Linked DNA regions of Homo sapiens: region 1 is linked to region 2. Evidence: promoter capture Hi-C in human tissues and cell types (Jung and others, 2019). All regions are on one chromosome and are shown on one strand. Each heading gives the region's core, a stretch centred on a gene start or on the middle of the fragment in contact. The rest is flanking DNA. Distances are from core to core; before and after follow the strand shown.

Region 1 (6,183 bases), core at 3,348-5,847, 81 kb after region 2:
AGTTCATAGCTGGCGTTATGGTTGATGAGGAGATTTGTTAGTCATTCTGAATGCAGTGATACAAAGATATGCAGCTCTCTGTATGCCTTTTTAGTGATAGCTCATCTGTTGTTCATAAGCAAGACACCCAAATATCTAAGTGTCAGTCTCTGTACTAATGAATGGACTTTCTGTTCTCACTCACCTTGAATTGTGAGAATGAAAGATCACATAGTGTTAATTGTTTTCAATTGCACTTGGCAATTGATCAGGGATCTCTGTAGCCCTCATCATGTCTTTTATTGCTCCCTCCTTGAAGTGGCATGCCAAATAAAGCAAGAATCTCTTGTGGCATATTTAAAGCCACCCCCAGTTTTTGTAGCACCAGTATGAAGAAGGAGAAAGTTCAAAATGAGAATTTGTTTTCCAAGGAAGAATGGTACAAATAAATCAGCTCTCTCGCACAGACTGCTATCAAACCAACAAACCGATGCAGCTGCCTAGCCAGGGTAGCTGTTAGGGTGATTTGTAGCTGGGATTTCTTCAAAAGGCAAATCCACAATTCTATAAGAAGAGGAGTTAAGCTAACGCTCCTAGGTAATCCAGTAAAGCTTCCAGTAATTCTGCTTTTTCTCTCCTCTCAGTCATTTTATTTTTGTCCTTTGTTTATCATTTGGAATGATGACTCATATTGGCTATTGGGCAGCTCTTTGGCTCTCAACTTTCATTTTAGACATAAGGCACGCTGCACCCTTTTGAATCGTATGGAATTCCTTTTCTAGTTGAACATGTTATGGCAAATCCTAGAGACCATAAACCTAAGTAAGTCTTATTTACAAACAAGTTATCTCCTTTTATCTCCTAATTTTTTTTCTTTTAAATACACTTTAAAAAGGAAGAAATACTACAGTCTTCCCAAGGGCTAAACTTTTAGCCTCTATCTCAACTCTTCTTTTATCCACTTGAATTTCAATATTTTTTTGAATGGACTAGGTTAAACCTGGATATTAGGGGCCAGGAAAGAAAGATGCCTCCCTTGGGTTTCCCTTAAAATTAATTAACTAGCACTTTGGTTAGGAATTGACCCTAAAGAGCCTTAATTAATTTTCTTCTGCCGGAACCAATGCTTTAATGTTGGTATTTGAAAGCAGAGTAAAACAAAACCAAAATAAATAAATGAAATAAAGAGGTTTCTGTAAAGATTTTTAAATGCCAGGCATTAGAATGTCAACGTTTGCACTATATTTTGTAATTGTTGTCATCAGATTGAAAAGTCCTTATTAAGCCATTAAGTCTGCATGGTGCTGTGGTAAGCAATGCATAAAGAGAACTACATAGAGATAATTCCCATTTTGATGGGTAGAAAAGGGAAGCTAAGACAGGCACACCACGAAGATTATAGATTTGTTCCAGTGGGTAAGGAATAATGAAGATTAAGAAACATATGGGGGATTTGTTTGTTTTCACAGTTAAATTTGTTAAAAAGCAGAATAACCATACAACTATAGAAATAGAGGGGCTTTAAGGATCACCCAGTCCAACCCTCTAATTTTATAGATTAGCAAACTGATCCTAGAGCTGCAAAGTGAGTTGCCTAAAGTTATAGAAAATTAAAAGAAACACTCGGCTCGGCGCAGTGGCTCACACCTGTAATCCCAGCACTTTGGGAGGCCGAGGCAGGCGGATCACGAGGTCAGGAGATTGAGATCATCCTGGCTAACATGGTGAAACCCTGTCTCTACTAAAAATACAAAAAATTAGCCAGGCGTGGTGGCAGGCACCTGTAGTCCCAGCTACTCAGGAGGCTGAGGCAGGAGAATCGCTTGAACCAGGGAGGCAGAAGTTGCAGTGAGCAGAGATCGCACCACTGCGCTCCAGCCTGGCGACAGAGCAAGACTCTGTCAAAAACAAAAAAACAAAAAAACAAAAAAAAAAACAGGATTACAAACTAGGTTTCCTAAATCCAAATTAAATATTATTTCCATTGCATGATTTTGCCTTCATGTTTTCTAAAACACATCAGTAAGTTGTGTATAGATGCTGTGTCAGCAGAGATTCAAATTTTCTCAGGTTAGAAATGGCAGGATTCATTTAAGAGGAGGAAAGGAAAAGATGAGAGGCAAGGGAAGAGCACATCTGAAGGAAAGACACGGTAAAGAGGCAAGTGGAGAAGAGGAAGGAGCTGCAAGTTGACACTTAGTCCCTCTTACCAAAGAGGAATAGTGAGATGTCTGGACAGCAGCGGGGAACACCGCACTGGGAAACAGGATGCCTGGGTTCCGCCTCTCATTGGCTCTGGACAATGGATCAGTTACTTAACACCTCTGTATCTTAATGCCTTAGTGGATGAAATACAGAGTTGAACTGAATTCACTCTGTGGTGTCTTTTCCTGCTTTCTCATGTTATGATTCTGTTATTTGATGGGCACCAAAACATTGGGTAGTGCTGGAAAGAGAATCCTGTGTTGTTACGGAAGAACGTGTAAGCTTCCCCCAGGGCCACGTGTGAAAATACAGTTAGTAGCCGTGCGCCAGGAGAAATTATCTCTTTCACTAAAGATCATAGCAACACAAAAAATTCGGAAGTTTTCCTGTTTATTTCAGTCTTAGTTTCTTCTTTACCATATAGGATGGTTTGGGTTTGGTATTTATTCACTTATGTATTAGAACTATGAGAGCCAGGTTTTTTGTTGTTGGTTTCTAGGTCCATAAATATGTATGTAAACATATATATTAATAACTTTAGGCATTATTGATAAGAGGAGTGTTTCTTTTTTTTCACTCGTTTGGTTAAATTCTTCCTCCTTGCCTAAGTTCCAAATTTGGGGTGGTGTAAAGAAAATGTGAGACACACACACACACAATGGAATACTATTCAGCTATGAAAAAGAATGAAATCATGTCTTTTGCAACAACAGGGATGGAACCGGAGACCACTATCTTAAGTGAAACAACTCAGAAACAGAAAGTCAAAACTGCATGTTTGGGGTGAGGGATGAGAAATTACCTAAAAGGTACAATGTACACTATTAGGGTGATGGTTACACTTCACCACTAGGCGATACATCCATGTAACAAAACTGCACTTGTACCCCTTAAATTTATACACTTTTTTTTTAAATGGGGGTAATGGATGAGTTTAGGGGAATGTTCCTCTAGTATGGAGTGGGTGAGGAAGCTGCGCTTTTCGGCTCACTCTGTGATCTCTCCAGGGGAATGCTGTGGTTATAAAGTGTACGCATTCTTGTACTGGATACTCATTCTTGCATTGTCCTCAGTTTTTAAAAAAATGACAACTAGATCACACTGGTTGGCTGCTTTCTATTATGCTAAAAATGCAGCTAACAGGTATCTACTAGAGACAAAGCTGACTATTAAAATAAATTTAACAATTCCTGATCCCAGTTTGGAAACCTAAGGGTACAAAGCTTTTTTTTTTCCCATAATGTGCTAAATAAAACTTTCAAACTTATGCATATAATTATGAAGGCAAAGAGTCAGAATTATAACCCATCTCAGCAAAAGGCAAGCCCGCTTAAGGCATATTTAAACAAAGCCCATTTGCTGAGGCCTGAGATAAGTGCAGTGTGCATCTAGCCATACCATCCCAAATATTTGGCCCCAACGTGCCAGGTTCTACCAACTGTCGGTGTGTTTTGGGTTATGCCGTTTGGATGTTTTGTCTGCATGGCACTGTGTATCTAGATGTTTGAAAACATCCAGATGATAGACTTTAAAATTTTTGTTTTGATGGGATATTTAACATTATAATCAAGAAGCATTTCCAATCAATACATGGGCATCATCAGCTTTCAAAAAAGCTTAGGCTTTATTTTATTTTAGATTAACATGAGAGAGTAAAAACGTTTATAACTATTATATTTTAACTCAATTTTGCATATTGACTTTACATTTGCAAGAATTACAGTCTGAAACAACATAACCAAAAAGCAATTAAACCGTCCCTAAAGTATTTAGAACATTCTCACTCGTTGTCTGCTTGTCTTTTTTTTTTTTTTTTTTTTTGACATTAAAATTTGATCTTTGCCTTATTGGAACTATGAAGAAATCTAAATCTGAATAGCCCTTTTTATAATACACAGCCATTGTTTGTACTTGCAAAACTGGATTAAGAAATCACTGGTATTCTTACACGTTTTTTAATTGCCAAAGAAAATTCAGCATATTTCTGCTTAGCCTTGAAATTTCCACCAACCAGACGGAGAGATTGTGCACCACCCACACCCTTCTCCTTGGCTTTCCCAAGTCCCCAGGGAAATCTCAGCTGGAAGCCCGAATGACATGTCCACACTCCTCTGTGCCTTGCTGTGTTACAGCTGTCCTGCAGGTGAAACGATTCCCCTGCTGAACCCACGAGGAGGTTGAGCACTTCATTTGTTCAAATCAAACAAACATCTTCCCTATGCTTCCCCCATTTCCATCCTGTCCTGTATTGAAAACTACAGGCAACAACCTCTCTTGGGGAGAACACTTTTCCGTGTGCTTCTCCTCCTTAGTTTTAGACATCACACTGCACTGGGGTCATAACAATATTCTTTTTTTTTTTTTTTTTTTTTTTTTTTTGAGACGGAGTCTCACTCTGTCGCCCAGGCTGGAGTGCAGTGGTGCGAGGTCGGCTCACAGCAAGCTCCGCCTTCCTGGTTCACGCCATTCTCCTGCCTCAGCCTCCCAAGTAGCTGGGACTACAGGCGCCCACCACCACACCTGGCATTTTTTTTTGTATTTTTAGTAGAGACGGGGTTTCACCGTGTTAGCCAGGATGGTCTCGATCTCCTGACCTCATGATCCGCCTGCCTCGGCCTCCCAAAGTGCTGGGATTACAGGCGTGAGCCACTGTGCCTGGCCAACAATATTCTTAAGCAGAAGCACATTGCAACACATGTAATGAGTACAGCCTCCTTTAGTTCTGCAAATGCCTGTTATTCAAGCCCCAATCCCTGCCTTTCCCTCTCCCTCTCAAAACCAGCACACACACACACACACACACACGCACCACACACCACACTCACAGTTTTTAAAAACTGGCATAAGAAACTAAATTCCCCCAAACCACCATCCCTGCATTCTGCTTCTCAGATACATCTTAATGATTTTCACCTCTTTCTTCTACTGTGTCTTCTGTTTCTTCTGATATTTCTTTCCATACTTCTAAATGCTATGCTTATATTGCCTTTTTTTTTTTTTTTTTTGAGATGGAGTGTCACACTGTTGCCCAGGCTGTAGTACAGTGGCATGGTCTCTGCTCACTGCAACCTCCGCCTCCCGGGTTCAAGTGATTCTCCTGCCTCAGCCTCCCAAGTAGCTGGGATTACAGGCACCCACCACCATGTCTGGCTAATTTTGTTTATTTTTAGTAGAGATGGGGTTTCGCCATGTTGGCCAGGCTGGTCTCAAACTCCTCACCTCAGGTTATCCGCCTACCTCGGCCTCCCAAAGTGCTGGGATTATAGGCGTGAGCCATCGCACCTGGCCTACGTTGCCTTTTTAATAGCCTCAGGAATCTCCCAACTTGAAGCTACAGAAGCTGTTAATTTAGTACGCTTACTCTCCACCCGCCACCTTCTTTCCTTTCCTTTATTCTTCTCTTTCTTTCAATATAGTTTGTGCGTGTGTGTGTGTGTGTGTGTGTGTGTGTCTGAGACAGGGTCTTGCACTGTCACTGAGGCTGGGGTGCAGTGGCACGATTATGGCTCACTGCAGCTGCAAACCCCTATTTTCAGATGATCCTCCCACCTCAGCCTCCTGAGTAGCTGGGACCACAGGTACACCCCATGATGCCTGGCTTGTGTGTGTGTGTGTGTGTGTGTGTGTGTGTGTGTGTGTGTGGTGTAGGGATGGGGTCCCACTATGTTGCCTAGGCTGCTCTTGAATATCTGGACTCAAGCAATCCTTCTGCCTTGGCCTCCCAAAGTGCTGGGATTACAGGTTATAAGCCATTATGCTGGGCCTCCCAATATAGTTTTATCATAATTTTTGGAAAAATGAATGTTCTGTGTTTACATTATTATTATTATTTTAGAGGAGGGTCTTGCTCTGTTGCCAGGCTGGAATACAGTGGTATAACCATGGCTTGCTGCAACCTTGACCTCCTGGGCTCAAATGATCCTCCCACCTCAACCTTCCAAAGCCCCCGGATTACAGGCATGAGTCACTGTGCCTAGCCATTTTTACATTATTATTACC
Region 2 (6,237 bases), core at 2,342-4,841:
GTATAAGAACAAAGGAACATACAATTATTTCCATCTATGGAAGGAGTGTGGGGCAAAGAAGGTGTCTCAGAGAAGACTGTGCTTGCATTGGGCCTTGAAGGGATGAGTGGGAGTCTGCCTACCAAACAGGTTGGGGGAAGGGCTTCCTGTCATTGCCACTATCCTGTGCAGAGGCAGGGAGACACAGCCTGGCAGCATACCTTCTGCAACCACAGGTAGCTGAGTTCAGTTCTTGGGAAAGTGAGGGGCTGGGAACTGATATTGACAAAGCTAGAGAGGGCAGCAGTGTTCTGGTCACAAAGAGCTTTCAACACCAGGCAAAGGAGCTTGTGCCTTCTCCTGTAGGACCTGGGCACCATTGATAACTTTTCTTAGACTATTTTTTGTCATTTCTCCCCACCCTCAGTTAGACTTGACCTCCCTGAAGGCAGGGAACATGTTTCCTCATTTCCCCTGCTGTACCTCCATGCCTAGCAGCGGGCTAGACACACAGAGGGCAGGTGCTTAGGAAGGAGGTGCGATAATAGAGTTTGAAAGGGCCTGGTCTGCTAGACCTGGGAACTGCAGGGCTCAGTGGTGTGTCCTGCCTCTGCCTCTTCCATCCAGGAGCTCCTCAGTTCTGTACAATTCCACATCCTCAGAGCTAGGAAGCCCTTATCATTGTAGCCTCCAGTGCCTATGACTCATCAAGAGCCATGTCTGGACAGTGAACTCTTTTAAGGACTGTGCCTTGTTACTGAATCTCCACTCTCCTGGCCAAGGCATGGCAGTGACTAAGTGGTCATTCATTGCTGAATGTGTGGATAGATCGTGGAATCCCTTCACCTGTTCCCTCCCCCACTGCTGTGCTTTTTCTTTCCCTTGCTTTCTTTCTAAATATTGTTTTATGTTTTCAGGCCAGTTTAGATCCCACCTACACAATGAAGCTTCCCTGATAGTTCACAACTACCAAATAGTTCCGTTCTCTGAACTCCAAAATAATTTAATGTTGCATTCATTTATGGAGTCATATTTTTGTGTGATTCTTTAACTGTTCTATCCCAGCCAATTCAGTATGGAGGAATCCTGCCTGGGCCCAAGTTCACAGAGACAGAACTATGTTAGACTCAAGCTCCTGTTAAGTCCTGTGCAAAAGGCAGAGTTGACCTGCAAGGAGCAGTTTTAGAGAGGAGACTTCGACTCAAGTTGCCAAAAATCTTATACTAATTTAAACTATTTGAAAAACGGAAGCAGCTGCCCTACACTGGGTGAGCAGCCTGTCCTTAAAATAGTGAAACGGTGGCCAGGGTCACTGTACTAAGAACTCTTACATTTAAAGGGAGGTTACAAGGCTCCTCCTAACCCAGAGGTTGTCTGTCACTAACACAGCTCTGTTTTATGCCCAAGAAAATGCCACCTGGCTCAGCCTACTGCCCAAGGAAGACCCTGGCTCCTTTCTCACTACCTCCCCTAGGGCAGAATCTATTATATTAAGGCCAGTTGTTGGTCTTTTAACTTACCAGTCAAGAGATACTGCTTCTGGCTGTTGGCTTCTAGTTTCACACCACAGAGGGAAGAGTCAAAAGGCGTATAGATATACTGAACATCCTTGACTTTCTCAAACCCTTTGAACATCTGACAGGCAATTACAAAAAAAGGCAATATTGGGTCAGTGAGTGTACTGTATATATTAACAGACAAAAACCTCTCACTTCTCAGCCTAAAAATGTAAGCAAAAGTCTAGTTGAGGATTTTGTGTCCTCAGATGTCCCTACTGGGTTATTTTCTCTCTTAAAACAAAACAACAACAACAAAAAACACCTAAACCTTGGTTTATTCCAGTAGGTACCTGTAGTGGCACCATACACCAGCAGCTGTGGGACCAGATGGATGCTGAGGCCCTCCCTGGCAATATCCCTGGGATTCTATGGGCTCTGCCTCCAAATCTCATCCAGTTCCACTTCAGTATCTAGACCCAAGGATTACTGAGCCAGGCCACCTGAAAGCTACCAGCCCTCCCAGAACACAGACTCCACTTTCTCCATCAGCCTTAGGGGCTACACATCCCAGCCTGCCCCCATGTACCTTTATCTGTTTGATTTCATACCGGAGCATTTTTTCAGTGTCAGCAGGGTCTGCACTGGCCGGAACTACCTTCTCACTGGAGATTTTGGCCCGAATCACTGCATAGGAAGAGAAAAGAGGGAACCTTCAGCAGCTGGTGGGGGCAATACACCTGAGGTCTGGATGATCCAGGGTCCATGAAGAAGTCTATAGGGCAGTTCTTGGTTTTGGTGTGGCTGGGTTGTGAGCAACGTGATGTGTGAGAAGGGGGACCTGGAAACACCTCCCCTGCAGTCACTGGAAGTTCCAAACCCCTCAGGCTTATTAGGTCCTATAACCGCTAAGCTGTTTCTGCCTTTTGAACCAGTTAGTCTGGAGAGCTCTAGTTCTCCATAGCCGTTTGTGCAGTGGGGCACAGGGTAGGAGTCAGAGTAGAGAAGGGAGGAGGAGCCCCTTCAGGGCAGTCGGTGTGAAGTTTATCTATTGCTGTGGTCAAGGCCTCTCATCCCGCCTACAGTTGATATTAGTAAATGTTTATTGAATTCATAAATGTTCTGACCCTGCACTGAGGTATTGCATCTCTTGCCATTTGAGCATTAATAACCAAAAACTGTTGATGATGTTCTTCCTCTGTGCCTGGCCTTGCACTAGGCACTAGGCCCATAGATGTGATTAAGACAGGGTCCCCATCCTGCCGAGCTCTTGATCTAGTGGAGTGCACACGTGTAAAGAACAACAGCACAGCATAGTAGGAGCGCTAAGACGGTTAGAGATGCTGAGGCGGCACCAAGGAGCCCGGGAGCCTGCAGAGAAGGGGAGAGACCTAAGTTAGCCCTTGAAGGATGAGTAGGAGTCTGCCAGGAATTTAAGGGTGTGAGGGAGGGCATTCCAGGCAGAGGGAAGAGAAAGGACAGAACGTGTGTGTTGCCATAGGGGCTTGGTGGCAACCTCAGTTATAGGCCTGGACAGACACGGGTAGTTACAATGCAAGCCCTCTCCCCTCCCCTTTCTGTCCCCAGTCTAGTAGTTCAGAATAATCATCAGATAGCTCCGGTGACACCTTGTGTAATGACACTCCATAATTGCAGTATGGCCGGAGTGAGGGAGGTCGCTATGGAAGTCCCTGATGAAATCTTCATTTCCTTATGAATCAGTCAGGTTCTGGGCTTGCAAGGTTGCTATGGCGCCTGGTCCTTCTCCACCCATCAGCCTCAGCAAGAGACAACCGGTAAGAATTTGAGCTCCTCCCTTTTCCTCTGGACTCCTGGTGTACTGCTGGCCAGATACTAATCCCCCACAACCACCCCCTGCTGTGGACCTCGCGGACCTCGGACTCACCAAGTGCCGAGTGGCAGATGTGCTGCTGAGGGTGCGCCGGGGCGCAGCTGCATGCCTCACCCAGCCCCGGGGGCCGCAGCAACGCCAGCAGCCGCAGCAACAGCACCCAGCTTGGCGCGGGCCGAGGGCTCCCAGGCATGACACTGCAGATCCGCGACTGAGCCTGTGAGGTCTGGGGGACTGGACGGCCCCAGCAGGGCTCCTTCCCAAGGCCGTTGTGCCCCTCGCCCCAGGCTTTATGAGGTGGCCCTAAGGGCCAATCCCGCCCCGACGGGCTCCGCCTTCCTTTGGCTCTAGGCCACCCGCGGAGGCAGGACCCGAGGCTCTTCCGACCTGCATACTCAGTAAGATGCAGAGGGAAGCCTGGAAGGAGGCCCTGACCTCTGTTTCCCTGCCTAAGTCATGAAGCGATCTGGAAGCAGAGGGGAAGCACTGGGAGAGGGGATGGTGTCAAGGGCAGAAAGACGGAAAGAGCCACAAAGACAAATGCATGAGGACAGAAAAACTGAGGGCTGTGATTCAGGCAGAAAGAACAAGAGTGAGGAGAGGCACAGACAGAAAGAGTGAGACAGGCAGAGTCCCAGAGAGGCAGACAGAATTACAACAGGCAAAAGAGACAGTGACAGAGAAGGACGGACCCCTTGCTGAGCTGCACGCTGGGAATGAGACGAGCTACTCAGGGCTTCTTTCAGCTGCAGGAAGTGCTTTCAATGCCCTATTTATGAGGCTCCAAAGCAACAGCAAACAGTAATAGAACAGGACAGAGAAAGTTGGGGTGTGTGTGTCTTGGCTCTGTTGCCTGGGGGGTGGGGAGAGATGTCAAAGAAGCAGCCAGTGCTTTAGAAACCCTTTCTCACTCCCAGAGCCTCAGACTCTCCAGATAGCTGGAGACAGCGCTCTTGGTGTACAAAACACAAAGTGTCCCATCACTTAGGGCAAACCTTGGACCTCAAAGCCCTCTCGAGGCCCTAGACTACATTGATTTTTATTGCATGTCCCTTCTCACTGGAGACTCTGTCATGTTCTAGAAGGTGGGACAGCTTAGAAAACAAAGAAGCAGGCTGGGCGTGGTGGCTCACGCCTGTAATCTCAGCACTTTGGGAAGCCAAGGCGGGTTGATCACCTGAGGTCAGGAGTTCGAGATCACCCTAGCCATCATGATGAAACTCCGTCCCTACTAAAAATACAAAAGTTAGCCGGGCGTGGTGGCCTACACCTGTAGTCCCAGGTACTCAGGAGGCTGAGGCAAGAGAATGGCTTGAACCCAGGAGGCGGAGGTTGAAGTGAGCTGAGACTGTGCCACTGCACTCCAGTCTGGGCGACAGAGTGAGACTCCGTCTCAAAAAAAAAAAAAAAAAAAAAAAAGTAAAAGAAAAAACAAAGAAGCAGGGGACTTGGGGGTGACTGTGACCAGAGCCTTGTCTGCTGTTTGGGCACAGTGTTGCAAGCCTCCAAATCCCAAATCTCCATGGGATTATTGCTGTGGGATGTTTCCACATGGTGCTGGACTGGATAGTGGGAGGCTGGGTTCCAATTCTGACTGTCACTGTAGCTTTGTGACTTTTGCCTCTCTGGGCCTCAGTTTTTTCTTCATAAAGTAGAGTTGAACTACGTGATTTCTAAAGCCCTTTGAAGTTCTTCTTCCCATCCTTGGCTGGCCTCAACCAGGAATGCTGAGATCCTCAGGCCAGATACCCCCAGTATCTGTTCAAATCTTAGTTCCCATAGGAGTCTGACTTTTCATCAGGGTCAACATTATTTCCTTCAAAGGATACCTTTTCATTTTGATGGTGTTAGTGATATTTGAAAAGAAGGGAATTGAAAGAGAGCTGAGTCTGACTGAAAGATGAAATGCCCGGGTTAGCATCCAGGCTGGTTCTTCATACAATGTTCAGACCAAGATAGAGGCTGATGTACTATTTGAAGGGAGCTCAGAAAGCATCCCATCTGATCTCTTCATTGGACAGATGTGAAGGCTGAGGCCCAGTGAGATACAGTGACTTGTAGAAAGTCCGTGGCAGAAGAGGACTAGAGTACTCGTCTCCTGACATCTAGCCCAGTGCTCCTTCCACTCCACAATATTACTTCTTACATCACCATTTTGTAGCAGCTTGAAATCTTGCCCTTAGAGGATAATCCTTCTTTTAAGGTTTTGTTGCTCCTCTGTTAAAGTATGGCTACCTCAGTGTAGAGTTCGCTCCCCTAAGGATCTCTCTGCATTTATAAACATACTGAATTCTTCTACCGGCTCTCTTTCAAACCCCAAGCTGGGAAGAAATGGGCCTTCACATGCAAAGCCTTGTTTGGTGGTGAGATTGGGGTATTGGTGAGCAGTGAAGAGTGTGAAAGAGGGAGAAAACAACCAGGATCATTACAGGAAAGCTGGGCCTTTGAAGGTTGTAGGTACCAAGAGGGTACATGCTGACAGGGACATCAAGATGCCAAAGATGTGTTTTTAAAATAAAAATACAGGTTTATTAAAGTACATCTACATATAGTAAAGTTCACTCTTTCAGAGATACTTTCTTTTTTTAATTCTCTTTGTCTGAGGGCCAGTCCTGCCCAGGTTTTGTCTAATGCAGAGAAAATTGACAGTGCATTTTAAAGATGTAGGGTATACCAAATAAGAGTACAGGGTTCTTGTAGCACTGCCACTAATATGCTCTGTGACCCTGGGAACTCACTGTCATTCCATGGGTCTCAGTTTTTTAATCTGTAAAGCAAGTAGATTGGACTAGTTCTTTAAAGAACCCTCCCAAGGGTATTCCCAAGAAAAATATGTGTAGGATTCCACGGAGAGATGGGCACACTCTGACAGTTTATTCATTTCTCTTCTGATTTCAGCTGACACTGCCC

Evidence for each region. Contacts are between HindIII fragments. The study calls those that stand out against the background at their distance.
Region 1: a fragment that was not itself captured here is called in contact with the fragment with the promoter of TIMP4 in region 2 in 6 of the 25 tissues and cell types used here (IMR-90 fibroblasts, adrenal gland, aorta and 3 more).

Annotation. Positions count from the first base shown.
Region 1 is chr3:12,235,250-12,241,432 of GRCh38, forward strand. No RefSeq gene overlaps it. Among named protein-coding and RNA genes, the nearest start is that of PPARG, 51 kb to the right of the region's middle. The HindIII fragment of the contact is 6,139 bases long and covers 1,529-6,183 here.
Region 2 is chr3:12,155,321-12,161,557 of GRCh38, forward strand. TIMP4 (TIMP metallopeptidase inhibitor 4) reads right to left here and starts at 3,592. Exons shown (of 5, transcript NM_003256.4): 1 at 3,382-3,592; 2 at 2,065-2,162; 3 at 1,500-1,614. The coding sequence starts at 3,520. SYN2 (synapsin II) reads left to right here. Exons shown (of 13, transcript NM_133625.6): 6 at 6,226-6,237. The HindIII fragment of the contact is 15,405 bases long and covers 1-6,237 here.